Regions from separate parts of the Homo sapiens genome. Here region 1 is linked to region 2. Evidence: promoter capture Hi-C in human tissues and cell types (Jung and others, 2019). All regions are on one chromosome and are shown on one strand. The core of a region is centred on a gene start or on the middle of the fragment in contact, and the rest is flanking DNA. Distances in the headings are between cores, read along the strand shown.

Region 1 (6,683 bases), core at 4,184-6,683, 38 kb after region 2:
CGGGGCCTGCTTCCCTGAGAACTTGCACATTGACATCCTCCTCCTTGGTGGCTCCTTCCAAACACAACAAACGTGCAGGCCCAGAAGGACAGGCAGGATGGCGATGTGGGGGCAGGGAGGGCTGAGAGCAGCTGCCCCCAGGGAGGGAGAGGGCCAGAGAGAGTGACCGGAGGGACACAGACATGGACACGTCCCCACCATCGCCGGGGCTGGAAAGGAACAACCCAAAATGTCTCTGGACTTTGTCGAGTATCCCCTGGGGTTTCAAATGGCCTGGGGGTGAGAAGCTCTGGTCCAGGCAAAGTTGTGTCCCTGGACAATGACTGTGTCCAAATCATACCCCCCGCCCGGGGTCTGAGTCATCCAGTCGTGCCACGGTGGTGGCTCTTCTGCATGTGGACCAGAGACACCTGTTTTCCCTGATGCCCAAGACAGTGTTAGCGATGAACAAATGAATGAACAAACGCTGCAGAGGGGAGGCCTCCCTCAGCCTGGGGCTGCTTGCCCACCTTCCCCGTGTGTCCTCCTGCCCCCAGCCCTGGAGGGAGCCCACAGTCTCACTTCGGAAAACCCCTCCAGAAAGCCCGGGACAGAGCAGGTGTGTGGTTCAGCTCGAGGAGGAAACCGGAAGCGGCCATGAACCCACGCCTGGGCAGCCACCTGGAAACGTGGTCAGATGTGACCTCTTCACAGACTCGGGGGTGCTGGGCTCTGAGCAGAAGCGGCCGGGTGGTCCTCCTGGGTGCCTCAGGGGCCCGGGGAGCATGGGTCAGGGCGAGTGGCTGCTCCCTGGCCTCAGGTTATCTGGGTGCCCGGTGAGTGAGGCATGGCAGGCGATACCGGACCCCACCCACCGCGTATACCTCTGGAATAGCGATTGCCATGATTGATGTCAGTAGCCTGGGCTGGGAGCCTGCAGGTGGGTGTGAGGGGGTGGAAGGAGCTGGTGTGAGAGGAAGTAGGGCAAGCGGGGGCTGGGAACTGGTTTGGGAACAACCGCAGCCTGGTCAGCAGGACCCACAGGGCCTGGACAGGGGCTGGAGCTGACCGCTGGCTGACCGGCTTTGCTGCAGCCACGTTCCTGCAGGGGACACAGACCCACCCACATTAGAAAAGTGACCCCTGCACCCCCAGTCAGCCTCCCGGAACGGCTGTCACCACTGTTTCCTGATTCGCTGGTGCATGTCTCCCCCACGGGGCACACATGCGTGGCCTTAGGCCTGAACAGAGCTGCTCACAGCACCCACTTCCCTTTCGGTTTTAAAGCTGCTGTGCCCGGGGGAGGGAAGCCTTCCCCCAATGGGTGTTCTTATTTATTTTCTTAATCACAGGTAATCAGAACTGCGAAGATGATTGGGTCACAGCCAGGAGACTGATTTTGTATCCAGAAGTTTCTGTTTCACAATCACTAAACTACTCATGCTCAAAGATTAGTGTCAACAAGAAATAAACAGACTCTGATACCGATATAAAATGAACGCGCGTTCAAGATTTCCTTCAACTCATTGTTAGCGCAGAAACCGGTAAGATGTGCCAGCCAGGTCAAAGGAGAAGTGACAAAGGCACCTGTGTACGCGGAGTAAAGGGATACAGGTACGCTTCACATACGAGGACTGGCTCTCCCACGGACGGGCGGGCGGTGGGAACTCGTGGGCAGCCGCGGGCAGAGCCCATCTGCATGCTGTCCAGGCAGTCCAGACTGTCCAGGCTGCTGCAACAGAGGACCACAGGCGGGGCCTAGAAACCGCAGATGTTTGTCCTCGCACATTTCTGGAGGCCAGAGTCCAGCATCAAGGCGTCGGCAGGACTGGCTCCTTCTGGGAACTCGGAGAGAATCCGGTCCAGCCTCAGCCCCTTCTGGCACAGCCGGCAGCCCTGGTGTCCCCCGATCAAGGCCGCGGTGCTCCAGTCTCCGACTCCGTCCTCCTGTGGTTTGCCTCTGCGGACCCCAAATCTCCCTCTCGTTCCTTCCACACGGGTGCTAGTGTCGGATTCAGGGTCCATCTGCATAACCCAGGATGACCTCGTCTCAAGAGCCTTAATTTGTCTGGGCACGGTGACTCACGCCTGCAATCCCAGCACTTTGGGAGGCCAAGGCAGGCAGGTTGCCTGAGGTCAGGAGTTTAAGACCAGCCTGGCCAGCATAGTGAAACCCCATCTCTACTAAAAATACAAAAATTAGCTGGGTGTGGTGGTGGGTGCCTGTAATCCCAGCTACTTGGGAGGCTGAGGCAGGAGAATTGCTTGAACCCAGGAGGCAGAGGTTGCAGTGAGCCGAGATCGTGCCACTGCACTCCAGCCTGGGCAACAAGAGTGAGACTCCGCCTAAAAAAAAAAAAATAAAACAAAAAACAAAACAAAAAAACAAAAAAAAAGCCTTAATCTAATGACGCATCTACAAACACCCTATTTCCAAATAAGCTCAACCCCATAGGCATGAGGGTCGGGACTTACACATAGCTTTTGGGGGCCACTGTCAACCCACTACACGTGGCTATAAGCAAGAGTTATCTGCATTGCTCTCTGTTATCTGTAATGTACAGATTGGAAAATCGCTCAAAGGCAGCGCGAGGCTAAAATCAGAAAACCCAGAAGGGAGATGGCTCCCACTGCAGGCACCCAGTCCTCCTTCAGGCTCGGCTGCGTGTTCCAGACATGCTCACACTCACTTCTCAGGGTCATTCCAAGGCTCCCAGAATGGCCGCTGTGTTTTTTTGTTTTTTTTTTTTTTGAGACGGAGTCTTGGTCTGTCGCCCAGGCTGGAGTGCAGTGGTGCGGTCTCGGCTCCCTGCAACCTCCACCCCTGCAGGTTTAAGCAATTCTCTGCCTCAGCCTCCGGAGTAGCTGGGATTACAGGCACAGGCCACCACGCCGGCTAATTTTTTTGTATTTTTAGTAGAGACAGGGTTTCACCATCTTGGCCAGGCTGGTCTTGAACTCCTGACCTCATGATCCACCCACCTTGGCCTCCCAAAGTGCTGGGATTACAGGCGTGAGCCGCCTGGCCCGCTGTATCTTTTTACGCCCACCCGTCCCTGGGGGCTGCAGGCACAGGCCCTGGGGGCCTGGTCAGTGCTGTTTGGGCAGGGGGAATCCTGGACCTGGAAAGGGGAGGGGTCTGGAGCACAGAGGAGCCAGGTGAGGGAGGCCTCCAGGTGCAGGCAGGGTGGAGCCTGGGATGGAGTGATGCAAGAGCCCGCTCCACTCCGCCAGCACCCAACAGCTCTTCCCTTTCTCTCCCAGGCCTCCTGCCTTCCCTCTTCCCTGGTCTTCCCTTCAACACCAAGACTGCAGGCATCACCCCCACCCTAAGAGCCCAAGCAACCACCGACGCCCCATCCCCTTCCCCTCCCCCTATCCCCTCCCCTCTCCCCCTCGGTCCCTTTTTCCCATGGGCGCTGGAGCTTGCAGGGCAGCTGTACCCGTGGCTCCCTCTCCAAATGCTCCCCTAACGCACGCCCTTCTCACTTCCATCGGGCTCTGCTCAGAGAGACCTACCAATGTCCAGCACCCATGGCCGCAATACTGCGTGAGCTGAGACCCCCCTGCAGCCATCCCCATCTGCACCACAGGTACTCAGCAGACAATGGCTGCAGGTGGGCGAGGGCACCCTCACCATCCACCTCAAGTGCAGACCTGCCAGCCTCACGCTCAGCCCTTGGGCCTGGCTGGGGAAGTGTCTAGGGCACAGATCCTGGCACAGGGCAGGCCCCTCCTCCACATTTCACAGATGGCAGATGAATGAGGAGGAGGGGAAGGAGGGGGTGAGCAGCCCATTGCCAAAAGCCCGTGGGAAATAGGGATCCTGGGGGAGATCCTGGCTCACGGAGATCAGAGGGGCGGGGCCACCAAGGAAGGGTGTGGGGGGGAGGCAGCTGCTGCTCATGGAAGGCAGCCGGATGGAGGTAGCGGGGTCAGGCAGAACAGGCCTGAAGAGAGGGGCATAGGGTAGGGACATCAAAGGAAGAGGCAGCGGTTGCCCTGGCCAGGGCCCACAGCAGGTGCGGGCATGGCTCTGGGCTGGCTCACCTGGCCCCCCCGACACCCTCCCTGCAGAGCCCCCGCCCACAGCTGCTCCACAGGGGGTACCAGTGGGTGTCAACCCCTGGCAGCGGGGACACCAGGCCTCTCTGAGCTGATATGGGGGGTGCAGGGGCAGCCCTGGAGTCCCAGCGGGCTGTGCCCTCTGTCCTGGCCTCATCCCTGTGAAACTGCCTTTGCAAAAATTGTAACAGCCATTATTCCGGAGGTCACACAATTTGCAACTTCCCCAATTACTCCTGAGGATGAATCACTATTGTAGACGCTAAGATCGGCCTTTTGAGGTGTCTTTTCAGGTTTTTGCATTTCTGACAATGATGGCTCCACCTGGATTTGGACACACCAACCCCCCTGCCCGCCACAAACGGGTCCTGTGGCCCCACCCAGAAGCAGACTCCCTGGCCTGCCAAACTATCCTTGAAAAACCCGAGCCTGAGAATTTTGGGGGAGATGATTGATTTGAGTAATAACTCCGTCTCTTGGGGGAGATTGATTTGAGTAATAACTCCATCTCCCACGTGGCATGGCCAGCCTGGTGTCTATTAAACTCTTTATAGCAATGCCTTGGGCCCAGTGAAGAGGTTTTGTCTGTGCAGGGGCAGGAAGAGCCCATCAGGCGGTTACACCTGGAGGCCCAGCCCTGAGCCTCCCGCCTTCTCCAGCGTCTGCAGAAGCTGACCCAGAGCCTCTGCTTCGGGATTCCTGGGCTGTGGTCAGGGTGGGTCTGGGGACTCCCGTGCTGCGGGGCTCCTGGTCTGCTCCCCAGAGGCTGTGGGCAGAAGCTGAGACCTCTGAAGAAATCCTAGGGATTTTCAGGAAACCAGTGCATGTTTTCTCTTCTCTAACCATGCACAGGGGACACAGAAAGCCCCAAAGATCGGGGCCACTGCGATTCGTTTTCCAGAGAAGGACGCTCCGAGTTTGCACTCTGACCGCACTGATGGGGCCCTGTTCCTCCGGTGTCCATGGCTCCCAGCAAAGCAGACCAGCACCGCCCCCACGCACACCTAGGCCCAGCCCAGCCCCAACACCGGCTGCCGAGCTCACCATGATGAGGGCTAATGGCTCTGGGCATCGGCCTGCAAGCATTTACTGAGCACCTACTGTATGCTCAGTGCCCACAGGCCGAGAGGCAACGAAGACAAAGTCTCTGTCCTTAGTTCAGGGAAGCCACTCCCAGGCAGGGTTCTAGGAAAGAAAGAGCCCCGGGCTGCATCCGCACTTCTCTGGGCTCCAACAGGATGTGGTTGCATCATCTCCTGGAGGAACGGATTTGCCTTGAAACGCAGGAGGCAGAGCGGGCCTGGGAGAAGGAGGTTGTTTCCACGCCTTCCTGGGGGAGAGGCTGGTGCAGTCGTGAGAGTCAACCGGGAGCTCGGAGGAGGAGCAGACAGGACGTGGGAGAGCTCGGGAGAGACCCAGGCTGGGCGTCTTGCAGCTCAGACCCTTGGCCACCCAAGCAGCGTAGCCGGCATCACAGCCCACGGCGTGAGGCCACCAAGACAGACAGAGGAGGTGAGGGGGACCCGGACTGGGCCAGCCACACGTGGAGGTCGTGGAGGAAGCAGGCATCTATGCGGAATCTCGGCCGCCCAGTCTGCCTTGTCCACAGAGAGGTGCCTGTCCGCTGCTTCGAGCGTGTGCCGACGTCTCCCGAATGTGTCCCCTTTCTCTTCTTCCTTGGGATTTCCTAACGTCTGACGATCCCAGCTTGCGTTGGCCCCCTGTGCTGTGGCCCCACGACGTTTTGTCCAGCTTGATCAGAGCAGAAAGGGGACCTGGTGGGCAGCCCAAGGGGCAGGAAACTTCCGGGTGGATTCCAGCACAGCCCCAGCCCTGCCGGGGTCTTCATGCCAAACCCCTGGTCGGCCAGGCTTGAAGCTGGGCTGTGGAGCCACAGTCCTGGCCTACAGGCAGGTGCTTAAGTCACTCAGGCCACTATGACACAGTTCCACAGCCTGGGCAGCCTACATAACAGACATGTACCTCTCACAGTTCCAGAGGCTGGACGTCCACAGTGAGACACTGTCTCTAAAAAATAAATAAATAAAAAATAAACAAAAGGCCAGGAAAAACGTAAGGTAGTATCAAAAATGTAATGTGTCAATCTCTTTTCATGACAGGCTACAACTGAAAACACCAGTCATATTACCAAGGCTGTGACCGAAATCGTGTCTCTGAGAATGTGCCTCAAGCGTTCCAAGCCTGGCCGGCCGCGCTGGCTCACGCCTATCATCCCAGCACTTTGGGAGGCTGAGGTGGGAAGATCACCTGGTGTCAGGAGTTTGAGACCAGCCTGGCCAACATGGTGAAACCCCATCTCTACTAAAAATACTAAAATTAGCTGGGCGTGGTGACAGCCGCCTGTAATCCCAGCTACCTGGGAGGCTGAGACAGGAGAACCGCTTGAACCCGGGAGGCAGAGGTTGAAGTGAGCCAACATCGCGCCATTGCGCTCCAGCCTGGGCAACAAGATCAAAACTCCATCCCCCCTCCAAATAAAAAGAAAGTTCCCAGCCTTACAGCGAGAGTAAATAAAAACTGTCACCATCTGGCAGGCCCAGGAACCTCAGGGCTATCGGTCAAATCTAAAGCCTGCCTTGGTTTGGCTTCTTAGCCTCAAGAGGCCATTAAATCTGAGA
Region 2 (7,335 bases), core at 1,750-4,249:
TAAGGACGCATTTCTCAGAAGGAATGTATCCTTTTCGTTAAACAATGTATGACTGTTCCCCGAAGAGAAAAGATCTTCCTTGGACCAGAAGTTGAGCTCTCAGCATCAGCGGACGCCCATGCTGTCAAACGCAGGTTGCTGTGCCAGACCCCAAAAGGACCCGGGCCTGGAGGTGCATCAAGGTGGAGATCAGAAGACCCCCACGCCCTCGAAACGGCAGAGCAGGGCGGCCTGGGGCTAGGGGCATCAGGCAGCTGCTTCCTGCTTAAGCACTACGACTCGCACCCAGAGCCTCGAACTCCAGGCTGCACAAATACGATTCCTGCTTGGTTCCCAGTTGGCCCTGGACGCTGCCAAGGGGCCCTCTCTCCACACCCCTAGAACAAAAGCCTATCCTGCCGGCCCAAGAAACAGTCACGGTTGAGGGGGAAAACGAAAACCTTCCTTTGACTACAGGAAACTTCCCAAAGGTTTCCCTGTTTCTTCATCTAAACCCATCTAAGTGTTGTGACACATGTGCCGGTGTGCTGTGTGCGTTCACTTACAACAGCCCCATTCATGTATATGTCACACGTCAGGGGATGCAGGCACCAAGGGGCTAAGGAACTTTCTGGGGTCACACAGCTCCGGAGTTGGGATCTGAACCAGCCACCGCTTACCGTGGTCTCCGAGGTTCCTGGGCTGGTCCTGGCACCCTCCCCCGCGGCCGCCTCGGCCTGCCTCAGTGTCCCCTTCTGGCCCAGCTGCCTTCCTGCCCCTGCCTGGCTGTGGCCTCCACGCGGCGTCCCCTCTCTCGGGGGGGCGGGGGGGGGGCTGCCCGCAGCACTTGGCTTGCTGGGGTCTCCGGCGTCTGCCCGGGAAGCAGAGCCTGGACCTGCCCCCTCGGCCACAGCACGGCGGGCCCTGCGGTGTCGGCCCCTCTCCCACCGCCCCCGGGCGGCACTGGGGGGCTGCGGGGTCCGGACGCACCGACAGGGCACCTTCCCTTCGCCGCCGCGGATGACCGGCCGCGCTCTTGGGAGGCCTTAATTTGGGAGGCTCTGCTCCCCCAGGACCCATTCCCCATCCTCCCAAAGCCCCCACGCGGTATCCGGGGGCCGTCCCCCTCTCCGCAGTCCCGCGGGTGGAGGGGATTCAGGTGCGCCCGGCCCTGGGGGTGGAGCGCTCGGCCCGGCGTCAGCTCATCGGCGCGGCGCAGCCCCGGACCTCAGCCGCAGGCCCAGAGGCGCGCGGTTCCCGGCCGGTCAATCAGGGAGGGCCTCCGGGAGGAGGTGGCGCTGCCCGCAGCCCGCCCGGCTCACCTGCGCCCTCCTCACCTGCGCCCTCCTCACCTGCGGGGCCATGCGGTCCCTTACCAGCAGCCGCCCGCCCCGGGGCGAGGAACCTCAGCCCCCAACATCGCCACCCCTCCAGCCTCGCCGGTCCTAGCCGGCGTCCCTGGGCGTGTCCCGGGAAGCGCACGTCCACGCTGGCGCTGGACCGGGTTTTCTGACTCCAGGGACGGGACTCGTCCTAAAGAGTCCGGCTCAGATGCGGTTACGCGCCTCACCTCACCCGGGTGCGGACCGCCAGTGCCTCCGCCCTGCACTCCGCGGGCCCTGCCCAGCTCTTCCCGCCGGAGGGCAGGTGGCCCCCGCCCCGCCCCTGCCAGGCGCGCGATTTTAAATCCCCCCAACCCCCGTCTCTCAGCGTGGCCTGGGAGGGGGAAGCCGCCCGGCTTCAGGGCTTCCTGCGCCTTCGCCGCCGCCCTCCCTGCCCTTCCCCGCCGCCGTCCCCCCTATCCCCCCAGCCCGTCTCTTCCGCCTTCTTATTTTGTGCCTGGGCTCTCTGCTCCGCAAAAATGTTGACTTCCCACGGGCAGAGGTTTCAGAATTTTTTTAAAGCTTTTGTCCACGGCGTTCTCTACATCTTGGTTGAAGGAATGGCAGCCTGCGGGGTGCCGTCTGGGGCCCCCGTCTCCCTGCGCTTCTCGCCTCCTCCATGCGCAGGAGGCGGTGGGGATCCGAGCCTCAGCCCAGAGGCGGGGGCTCCGGGAGGAGGGTGCCCCGCTGCCCTGTCTAGCAGCCTCACCCAGGCCCTTCCGGAGGTGCCTCTGCAGAAAGGGAGTCACGTCCCCCCTGGGCCTCACCTGGCTTGCAGGGATCAGGGAGGGAGGGCGGGGTGGGCTGGGTGCGGTGGGGAAGGAGCAGGGACTCTGGGTCCCACCCTCGGTTGCGTGGTGCAGCCTTTCCCAAACCAGCTGCCCCAGACTCCAGGCCAGACGCCACTGCCAAGGCTGACGAGCCCAGAGCCGCAAGCCTGCCTCGGTTTCTCGGCGGGGGATCCTCAGAGCCAGTGTTAAGCAAAGAGGCTGCGCCAGCGCCCTTCACACCCCTAGAAGGCTAGGGGAGCAAGGCTAGGTGGGGGCGGGCTGGGGCTGGCCCAGAGGGTAGAGCCCGCCCACTTTCCCTCCCTCCTTCCATTCATGCATGCGTTCATTCAGTCATTCATTCCTCAGCAGTCGCTGAGCTCACTCGCCTTAAGTCCTGGAGATCATCGGAGCGCAGCCGGCCAGGGGCCTGGCGCTCTCCCAGCCTTGGGGCCTGGGTCCCCGGACTCCTGCTCGGGGAGGGCCGCAGGACCGGCGCATTGTGCGCGGCGCGGGGAACGGCCCTTGCCTCCCACGGTGCCCTCCCTCGCTGCGCCGGCACCCGCAGCACCCCTGGCCACCTTCCTGCCGGGTACCCCCCACCCCTGCGCTTCCCAGGGCACCTACGGCGCCCAGGTCCGCGTCCAGGCGGACAGGCCGACCTGCCTCTGTCCCGCCTCCGGCCGACGGGCACACGCCTGGGCAGAGCCGAACTTTCCGGAGCCGCCGCGCAGCGCCCCGCCTCCTGTCCCGGGGCGGTCTCGGTCGCCAGAGGAGCCAGGCCGGGGGCGGGGCGGGGACGGGGCGGGGACACGGCTGCCTCCAGCACACCGCGCGCTGGGCGCTCAGAGCCTCGGGCGCGGCGGGAGCGCAGTTAGAGCCGATCTCCCGCGCCCCGAGGTTGCTCCTCTCCGAGGTCTCCCGCGGCCCAAGTTCTCCGCGCCCCGAGGTCTCCGCGCCCCGAGGTCTCCGCGGCCCGAGGTCTCCGCCCGCACCATGCGGCTGGGCAGGTGAGCCGGGGAAGGAGCGGAGGCGCCGCGGTCAGGGGCGGGGTGGCTCGGCCCGCGCGTCCCCAGCTCGGCTCGGACGCGGGGCCTGCGGGGCTCGCCTGGAGGTGCCGGGCTGGCAGTGCGGGTCCGAGGAGCGGGCGGCGGAGGCGCCGGGGCGGCCGGCGGGGCGTGGACGGCAGTGGGCGGCGGGGCCTGGCACCGGGACCCATGGCAGGACGCACAGCCGTGCGGGGGCGGGCTCGGGGGCGGGGTCCCTGCCAGGGAAGGAGGACCGCGAACGCTGGAAGGAGGGAGGGAAGGCGGGCGCACCCTGCACGCCGGGGCACGGGCGCTGCCCCTTCCACTCCCTGGCACTGCTGATTTCCTAGAAGAAGGGAGAAGGAGGGAGGTGACCGGCCGAGCGCTCTCCAAGGCCAGCTGGTGCCCACGGTCTGCGGACACGCCCTCCCCCACACACGTGGGATTCCCCGCAGCCCGGCAGCCGATCCACACTGGGGAAGGCGGGGCTGCCTGAACCAGGAGTGACAGCTTCCTCCTGGATTTTTGCGAAAATATCCAAAATATACTCTTCGCAACCCACGTTGTAGGGTCCGCAGCCTGTGCTCCCCTGGGTGAACCTGTGAGGCCCCTGACCCCAGGGATGCCTCCCGCACAGCTCAGAGCTGGGCCACACCGGAGTCACACTCCCCAGGTCCCCTCCCCATTAGAAGTGTATGCAGTTATGATCCTGCCCTAGAGAGAAAGAATTTAAAGGTCCCGGAATGTCATAGCCCTCCCAAATGTCTTAGCCCTCCGCCACCCACACCTTCAGGTAGGCGGCCCTGTCCATGCTGGGTCTTGAGGCAAGCTCGGGGTGGGGGTAGGTTAGATGCAGGGGTGCTGAGGGTCCAAGGAAAGGACACAGAGGCCGCTGCTTAGGCAGCACCCAGGGAGGGGACAAGCCAGAAACAGCCTGGAGCAGGCACCCCCCACCCTGGCCCAGGAAGCCCCCAGATGTCCTGAGGAGGCCTCCATAGACAGGAGGGGCCTTGTGGGCTGGTGATGAATATGGGCACTGTGGGAGACAAATGGGGGCACAGAGGAGTTCTCACAGCTGTCGTTTAGATGGTGGCTCTGGGGAAATGCTTGAAGGGGCTAAGGGTGGAGGCAGGGGGCCTGCTGGAGGCCATCACAGCCATCTTGCCAGCCAGAATGGTGGCCCCAACAGGGGGAGTGGGAGAGAGAGGAAGGGCCGCCTGCAGACTTCAAGAGCCCCTGGTGGCCAGGGGCCGCCTTGGTGCATGTGTGCTCACTTGGCACAGACACACCTCCATGCAGACTCAGATGACAGCCATCGTGGGTGGGGCAGGGGTTTCTGTGGCTCCAGGGCTCAGGGACAGCCCACTGGGAGGTTCCCACAAGACCAACCTTTGACTTACAAAGCCCCCAAGCTTTCCCAGGCAGAGGCCACAGAGAAGAGGGATGAGCGTCTCCCAGACCTTGGAGGTGCAGGGACATCAGAGAAGGAGATGTCCCTGCTCCTGGGGCTCTTGCTTCATGGGGAGCTGGCCCCAGAAACTGATGGTTTGGGGGGCTGGGGTAAGCACTGCTACCAAAGTGGTCCCGGCCACTAAGGGCCCCCACGTGGGGAAGGCATCCTGGGGGCTGGCGGGAGGAGGTGGCGAGCCTGTGGCGTGCAGGGTGCAAAGGCTCCCAGACCCAAGATGGCAGGGGCATTGGAGTCACGAGGGGAATTTGCTGCCCGAGGCAGGGGCACCAGCTGCAGCAGGATCTGAAACAGGAGGAGCTCAGGTTTGGTTTCAAAATGATCCGCGTTCCGCACAGGGCTGTCCCGTCACTCACCTGACCCTGTCACGGGCACGCCTGATGTTCTCCGTCTCCCCAGCATTTTAAGTGACACTCCTACTATATGTGCCCTGAAAGCTTTTTTTTTTTTTTTTTTTTCTGATTTCCTACAACTTCTTGGCATCTGTCCCCAGGAAGGCTAGACCAGCCTCACTGGCGTCCCTCGCTCCCCTTCATCCTCACGCCAGCATCACTGTGTTTCTGGGGATTTGTTACCGCGAGAGCTAGAGAGTGGTGAGAGGCTGCCAGCCCCTCGGACTTGCTGTGCTGGGCAGGAGGGTGGTGGTCCTGGCCCCGGACCCCGAATTCCCATGGAGAACAGAGGCAGGCAGGCTCCTGGCTCTGCCTTCACATTTCTGTGATGGGCTTAACTACCTCCTGCTCATGGGAACCAGCCTGTTCCTGTTTGGAAGATACAGGTAACTCCCTGGTGGCCCCGCCTCACCTGCCTTTCTGGTTGTTTTTTCCAGTCCTGGACTGCTCTTCCTGCTCTTCAGCAGCCTTCGAGCTGGTAAGTTCAGGGGGTGCTTTGCCATGGGGCGCCCAGCTCAGAGATGGGCTCTCCGGCTGTGTGGACTGCTGGCCGCAGGGCACTGGGAGCAGCCTCACCAGGCTCCTTCTTGCTTCTCAAGTGGTCCTTTGGAGACAGTTGGACCCTAAACCTAGGTTGCTGCACAGGATAGAAGCGTTTCCTTAAAGGGAAACACTTCTGCAAACTCCGGAGTTCTTGTTTGACTCCGTCTTTGTTGCGGGCAGAATGCAGTTCCTCTGAGCCAGGGCTTCCTGGGTCCCCTGGTCTCCCTGTCCCAGGCAGCAGCCCTGCTGAGCCCTAAGAGCCACCAGCCTCTGGAAGAGCCAGGAATAAGGACGAAGCACCGCAGCACAAACCTGAAACCTTGCCAAGCCTTCCAGCCCAGAGGGCTTTGGGGGCAGGGGACACACACAGATTTTCCTGCAGGTGCCAGGTGCAGTGGCTCACTCCTGTAATCCCAGGACTTTGGGAGGCCAAGGCGGGTGGATCACCTGAGGTCAGGAGTTCGAGACCAGGCTGGCCAACATAGTGAAGCCCGATCTCTACTAAAAATACAAAAAATTAGCTGGGCATGGTGGCGGGCACCTGTAATCCCAGCTACTTGGGAGGGTGAGGCAGGAGAATGGCGTGAACCCCAGAGTCGGGGGTTGCAGTGAGCTGAGATCACGCCATTGCACCCCAGCCTGGGTGACGGAGCAAGACTCCATCTCAAAAAAAAAGATTTTCCCACAGGCATTTACGTAGCTGCACAAACAGTAAAGCTACCCTGTGTCTGCCACATTTGTGACAGCTTTCCTACTGCAAGTGAGCAGCAATATAATGTAATTGCTGAGAAATTCTTTTCCCTTAAATGCCTTTCCCTTAAAGAACTTTTTATTGTGCATTAATTATAGACTCCCGAGAAGTAGTAAAAGTAGTGCTGAGTAACAAAAATAACACTGAGCGGCCAGGCCCCATCCAGCCGCTCCTCCCCATGGCAGCCCCTTACATAACAGGAGTGTGTCATCGAAGCCAAAGACTGACATGGACCTCACCATGAAATGTCTGCGTTTTTCAAGTTTGACTGCATTCCTACATGTGCCTTGTTAATAAATTCTGAGCCACCGTTGGTGTTTGAGGCTTGAAACCCAAAGTCTGCCCCATAGAGTAGCTTCATGGCCTGGGCATCAGCCTCCGAAAACAGATTTTGCACCTTTTGGGCCATTGCAGATACTCAGGAGAAGGAAGTCAGAGCGATGGTAGGCAGCGACGTGGAGCTCAGCTGCGCTTGCCCTGAAGGAAGCCGTTTTGATTTAAATGATGTTTACGTATATTGGCAAACCAGTGAGTCGAAAACCGTGGTGACCTACCACATCCCACAGAACAGCTCCTTGGAAAACGTGGACAGCCGCTACCGGAACCGAGCCCTGATGTCACCGGCCGGCATGCTGCGGGGCGACTTCTCCCTGCGCTTGTTCAACGTCACCCCCCAGGACGAGCAGAAGTTTCACTGCCTGGTGTTGAGCCAATCCCTGGGATTCCAGGAGGTTTTGAGCGTTGAGGTTACACTGCATGTGGCAGGTAGGACCATCGAGGCGGGGAGAGCTAGGTCCATCCCAGCCTCACATCGTGGACAAGTGTTCATGAAACCCCCTCCCTGGCTCATTCACTGTTTCTTCCAGTGAAGAAAATTCTCATCTGTGTTATCAGGCTTCTGTCTAACTTCGAGGGAAACTAAACAGCTGAAAAATCCTTAGTGCATGACCTGCGGCTGCTTGGTTTCCCGGAAGAGCTCCTACCCTTGCTGTCTTTGCCTCTTGAGTTAGTTAGCTTTTGTTTTT

Evidence for each region. The method cuts DNA at HindIII sites, captures the fragments that hold promoters and counts their contacts. A contact is called where the count stands out against the background at its distance.
Region 1: a fragment that was not itself captured here is called in contact with the fragment with the promoter of ICOSLG in region 2 in 2 of the 25 tissues and cell types used here (lymphoblastoid cells and spleen).

Annotation. Positions count from the first base shown.
Region 1 is chr21:44,201,439-44,208,121 of GRCh38, reverse strand. LOC105372832 (a long non-coding RNA gene) reads left to right here and starts at 713. Exons shown (of 4, transcript NR_188576.1): 1 at 713-919; 2 at 1,332-1,593; 3 at 6,165-6,299. LOC102725065 (a long non-coding RNA gene) reads right to left here and starts at 5,176. Exons shown (of 3, transcript XR_937789.3): 1 at 5,089-5,176; 2 at 1-2,004. RefSeq lists cis regulatory regions at 1-218, 1-246, 245-1,294, 903-1,403, 379-1,444 and enhancers at 418-1,617, 4,745-5,507, 5,508-6,271. The HindIII fragment of the contact is 4,473 bases long and covers 3,197-6,683 here.
Region 2 is chr21:44,236,607-44,243,941 of GRCh38, reverse strand. ICOSLG (inducible T cell costimulator ligand) reads left to right here and starts at 2,999. Exons shown (of 7, transcript NM_015259.6): 1 at 2,999-3,138; 2 at 5,454-5,494; 3 at 6,725-7,075. The coding sequence starts at 3,125. RefSeq lists enhancers at 701-1,239, 3,744-4,522 and cis regulatory regions at 2,273-3,188, 2,264-3,188, 2,189-3,188. The HindIII fragment of the contact is 7,916 bases long and covers 1-4,815 here.